Linked DNA regions of Homo sapiens: region 2 is linked to region 1. The links are contacts of gene promoters, found by promoter capture Hi-C in human tissues and cell types (Jung and others, 2019). All regions are on one chromosome and are shown on one strand. Each heading gives the region's core, a stretch centred on a gene start or on the middle of the fragment in contact. The rest is flanking DNA. Distances are from core to core; before and after follow the strand shown.

Evidence for each region. Contacts are between HindIII fragments. The study calls those that stand out against the background at their distance.
Region 2: a contact is called between a fragment that was not itself captured here and the fragment with the promoter of FBXW9 in region 1, in 1 of the 25 tissues and cell types used here (hippocampus).

Annotation. Positions count from the first base shown.
Region 1 is chr19:12,695,301-12,697,982 of GRCh38, reverse strand. FBXW9 (F-box and WD repeat domain containing 9) reads left to right here and starts at 1,352. Exons shown (of 10, transcript NM_032301.3): 1 at 1,352-1,810. The coding sequence starts at 1,402. RefSeq lists enhancers at 1,023-1,082, 1,393-1,442. The HindIII fragment of the contact is 8,232 bases long and covers 1-2,682 here.
Region 2 is chr19:12,183,248-12,185,929 of GRCh38, reverse strand. It overlaps ZNF136 (zinc finger protein 136), which reads right to left. Exons shown (of 4, transcript NM_003437.5): 2 at 19-145. Among named protein-coding and RNA genes, the nearest start is that of ZNF136, 21 kb to the right of the region's middle. The HindIII fragment of the contact is 4,023 bases long and covers 1-2,682 here.

The sequences.
Region 1 (2,682 bases), core at 103-2,602:
AATTCTTTGTATTTTTAGTAGGAAGGGGTTTCACCTTGTTGGCCAGGCTGGTCTTGAACTCCTGACCTCAAGTGATTAACCCACCTTGCCTCTCGAAGTGGTGGGATTACAGGCCTGAGCCACCGCACCCGGCCAACATGCTGTTTTAGTAAGTGTGATGTTAGGCCGGGCGCAGTGGCTCACGCCTGTCATCCCATCACTTCGGGAGGCTGAGGCGGGCGGATCACGAGGTCAGGAGTTTGAGACCAGCCTGGCCAACATAGTGCGACCCCGTCTCTACTGAAAAATACAAAAATTAGCCAGGAGTGGTGGCGCGTGCCTGTATTCCCAGCTACTCTAGAGGCTGAGGCAGGAGAATCGCTTGAACCCGGGAGGCGGAGGTTGCAGCCAGCCGAGATCGCGCCACTGCACACCAGCCTGGGTGACAGAGTGAGACTCCGTCTCAGAAAAAAGAAAAAGGTAGCTTTCCACCAGGCGCGATGGTTCACGCCTGTAATCCTGGTACTTTGGGAGACCAAGTTGGGGGCGGATGGCTTGAGCTCAGGAGTTCCAGACCAGCCTGGACAACGTAGTGAAACCCTGTCTTTACAAAAGAATACAAAAATTAGCCGGGTGTGGTGGTGCGCGCCTGTAGTCCCAGCTACCTGGGGGGCCGAGGTGGAGGATCACTTGAGTCCAGAAAGCGGAGGTTGCAATGAGCCAAGCACTCCGCTTGGAGGACTGAACTGCTGTCCTCCAAGGTTGGGTTGGGGAATGGGGTCTGGAGAGGTAGTTCTGAGGCCCCAGTTCCTTTCTCAAAAAAAAAAAAAAAAAAAAAAAAAGTCACTTAACTGATGCCTCTGCAGTGTAACTGCATATTTCTGGCTCTGGGAAAAGAGGCAAGAGTTCCAATCTCTACTCCTTGAACTCGGAAAGGGGCCTTTGGGTTTCTAAGCTCAGTGTCACATATAACAGATGCCTTCGTTAAAGCAGTGTTTATTTTATGTCTAATTTAAAGAGACAGGGTCTCACTATGTTGCGCAGGTTGGAGTACAGTGGCACAACCATGGCTCACTGCAGTCTCGAACTCCTGGACTCAAGGGATCCTACCCCTTCACCTTCCTGAGTATCTGGAACTACAGGCGCGCGCCACCCCGCCTGGCTTGAGTTTCGTTTTTAGCTAGAGTTGGCTGGCTCTCGGTATCGGCTAGTTTAAAAAGCGCAGAAACAGGAACCTGCATTTTCCAGCCTAAGGCCGACGCAGTTGCAAGAGACCCTGTAAGCGGGGCGATGTTCTGTATTAAGCCAGTGTCTGACTTCGTCGCTTCCGGTGGGCGCATAAACGTCATCAGACAGCGCCGGAAGTGCCCTCGTGCTGCCTAGGAGACAAGACGCGAGGCCGGCAGCGCCCACCCGGTCGCAATGGAGCTTCCCCTAGGGCGGTGCGATGATTCCCGCACCTGGGACGATGACTCGGACCCAGAGTCAGAGACAGACCCAGACGCGCAGGCCAAGGCCTACGTGGCCCGCGTTCTCAGTCCGCCAAAATCCGGGCTGGCGTTCTCGCGCCCCTCGCAGCTATCCACACCCGCCGCGTCCCCGAGCGCTTCGGAGCCTCGGGCCGCGTCCAGGGTTTCGGCCGTAAGTGAGCCGGGCCTTCTGAGCCTTCCCCCGGAGCTGCTGCTCGAGATCTGCTCCTACCTGGACGCCCGCCTCGTGCTCCACGTCCTGTCGCGGGTGTGCCACGCGCTCCGCGACCTCGTGTCTGACCATGTCACCTGGAGGCTACGCGCGCTACGCCGCGTACGCGCGCCCTACCCAGTGGTGGAAGGTGCGCGGGGCCGGGGGCCGGGGACCGGGGGCCGGGGGCGCCCGCCCAGGTCAGGCTTGGGGCGGGGAAGAGGTACATGGGGTGTTCCGGATGCAGCCTCTGGTGCAGGCTTCGTGGCTGTCCTGGCTCAGGCTGGAGGCTAAGGTAGTTACTGGTGGTGCCGAAGCCCCTGAGGACCTCTGGGTGGACCACGAGGCAGTCAGGCACTTGGGGTCCTGAGGCTGTGAAACCCTAACATGGGGCTGTGGTTCCTGGACGACTCAGGATCCAAATATCCTCAGTCTTGGGGTCTTGTGGTACTAAGCCACTGACCCCTGATTGGGGATTGACACAGGGACTTGAAGTCTTAGGCTCTGGAGTTTATGCTGGGGCTCAAAGTGAGCCCAAGGATCCTCAGGTTCTGAGTCCAGCTTAGAAGCTGAGACAGCACCTGTTGATGTCAAAACTCCTGAGCCCTAGAGCCTTGACCCAGTTAGGGGTGAGACAGTGGCTCTTGGCCCTGAGTTGATTGGTTCCTGAGGGAAGACAGCTTGGGACCTTTGAATCGATATTGTTGATCCTGATACAGCTGGATCCTCAGGCCCTTAAGCCAAGATGTATTACAGCTTGGGTGTTTGATACCCTTAACCTGGAAGCTTTGATTCTGCTTAGAGAGGAATCAGGATCACTCCGGGATCAGTGATTCTCAAGGTGTTGCCATCCAACCCCCAGGTCAGACTCTCCCAAACAGCTTAATAAACATAGATGCTTGGACCCCGTCCATATCACAGAATCTGCATCTGGGGCTTGCATTCTGCATCTTGACAAGGCTCCCTGGTTTCCAGATACTGTTTGAGAAACAGCCCCCTTGGTCTGGTTCAGATGGCTGAGGC
Region 2 (2,682 bases), core at 65-2,564, 510 kb after region 1:
GAAGTATACAATCCTTACCTATAGAGGCCAGATTCCTCATGGTTTCCCACATCACATCTCTGTAGAGATTCTTCTGGGAAGGATCTAGCAAAGCCCACTCCTCCTGGGTGAAGTTCACATCTACATCCTCAAAAGCCACCGAGTCCTGAAACATCCCACATATGTGGAGAGGAGAATGGGTGAGACAGACAGGGCTGGGGAGCTGTACTCAATTCATAAGAAGTTCACATGTTTCAGGGGTCTGCAAACATTTACTCCACTGTTTGGTCATCATACTCACTTCCTTCCACACAGCAACTCTCATACTAGAATGGAACTATCGGGTAGAACAATAGCAGTGTCTGATCATCTTTCTTGGTGGTGGTTGCAAGGAGTAATACGTGCTGCCTGAGTCCCAGCTAATGTCTGCTCATACAGTGGACCTGTAGAACCTGTCATAACGAAGTCCTACCACCTACTATGCAAAAGAGTTTATATTAGCAGTCCTGAGACTGCTTACCCTTAAAAAAAGGCTCCTCACTCCTCACAACATTCATCTGAGGTAGGAGACCAACAGGACTTGTATTCTGATCACAACCCTACTGGCCAAAACAAGATCTGGCACAGGTAGGATAAAGTAAAGAAAGGGGCCAAAACCAGCAGACGACAAGAACAGCGATCTCTAGATGCTCTCACTGCTCATTAGCATAAAACACTCCCACCAATGCTATGACAGCTTACAAATGCCATGGCAATGACCTGAAAGTTATCATTCCTTCCTTAGAAAGTTTTAAATAACCCACCACTTAATTTGCATATAATTGAAAGTGGGTATAAATATAGTTGCCAAGAGACCATATGTTGCTGACTCTGGGTGTACTGCCTATGAGTTAGCACTGATCCACAAAGACCAGTACTGTTAAATAAAACACTGTTATCTAACACCACTGGCCTGCCCTTGAATTCTTCCCTGGGCAAAGCTGGAAACCATCCTGGGATAAGCCCCAATTTTAGGGCGCACCTGTCCTGCATCACATCCATTCCTGGTATCTGGGAAACGGATTTGGGGAAGGAGCCCAATGACCTATGTAAGAGTAGCTCGGTGCCTAAACTCTTTATGGAAAAAATATGAAAATTTCTGGCGTCCCACCTTCTGAGAGTTTGGGAATTTGTTACACGCGCAACACATAGTGCCCACCTGATGAGCCCCCAGAAACACTCCAGGAAGCATTTCGCATGTGTTCTCACAATTGGTTACTGGGAAAATTAAGCCCATCTTCTGTTATTATACTAAGAGAGAATACTTGCAAGCTTGTACCTATCCTGCAGATCAAATATAATTAAGTACTAAATGAGACTAATGAAGGATTTTTTACCTTTTTTTTTTTTTTTTTAGACGGAGTCTGGCTCTCTGTTGCCCAGGCTGGAGCGGCGTGATCTCGGCTCACTGCAAGCTCCGCTTCCCGGGTTCATGCCATTCTCCTGCCTCAGCCTCCTGAGTAGCTGGGACTACAGGCACCTGCCACCACGCCTGACTAATTTTTTGTATTTTTTAGTACAGACAGGGTTTCACCATGTTAGCCAGGATGGTCTCAATCTCCTGACCTCGTGATCTGCCCACCTCGGCCTCCCAAAGTGCTGGGATTACAGGCGTGAGCCACCACACCCAGCCCTCTTTTTTTTTTTGGATGGAGTCTTGCTCTGTCGCCCAGGCTGGAGTGCAGTGGCAGGGTCTTGGGTCACTGCAACCTCTGCCTCCCAGGCTCAAGGGATTATCCCGCCTCAACCTCCCGAGGAGGTGGGAGTACAGGCACGTGCCACCACACCCAGCTAATTTTTGTATGTTTAATAGAGATGGGGTTTCACCATGTTGGCCAGGCTGGACCCAAACTCCTGACCGCAAGTATCTGCCAGCCTTGGCCTCCCGAAGTGCTGGGATTACAGGCGTGAGCCACCACACCCAGCTTGATGAATCTTCACTAAATTGGTGAAAATAAATTGGTGAATTCACCAATTTATCTACCTACTTTCTCATCAAAATGTATCAGTGGCCGGGTGAACTGGCTCACACCTGTAATTCCATCACATTGGGAGGTTGAGGCAGAAGGATTGTTTGAGCCCAGGAATTCAACATCAGTTTAGGCAACACAGTGAGAACCTCCATCTCTACAGAAAAATTTAAAAATTAGCCAGCAGTGGTGGTGCACGCCTGTAGTCCCAGCTACTCAGGAGGCTGAGGTGAGAGGACTGCTTGAGACCAGGAGTATGAGAATGCAGCAAGCTATGATGGGTGCCAATGCACTCCAACCTGGGCAAAAGAGGAAGACCCTGTCTCAAGATAAACATAGATAGATAGATAGATAGATAGATAGATAGATAGATAGATAGATAGATAGATAGATTCAGTTATGTGAAGCCATAATGAAGAGTGATTCTCCCTATTTCTCTGAGCTTTTTCTCCCTGTAGCCTTCTCAAGGCTACACTCTAGGATTCTATTTGAAATCACAAAAAAGGAGCTGGGAGTGGTGGCTCACGCCTAAAATCCCAGCACTTCGGGAGGCCAAGGTAGGAGGATCACTTGAGCTCAGGAGATTGAGACCAGCCTGGGCAACATGGTGAAACCCTATCTCTACAAAAAATTAGCCAGTCGTGTAGCCTGCACCTATGGTTCTAGCTGCTCAGGAGGCTGAGGTGGGAGGATT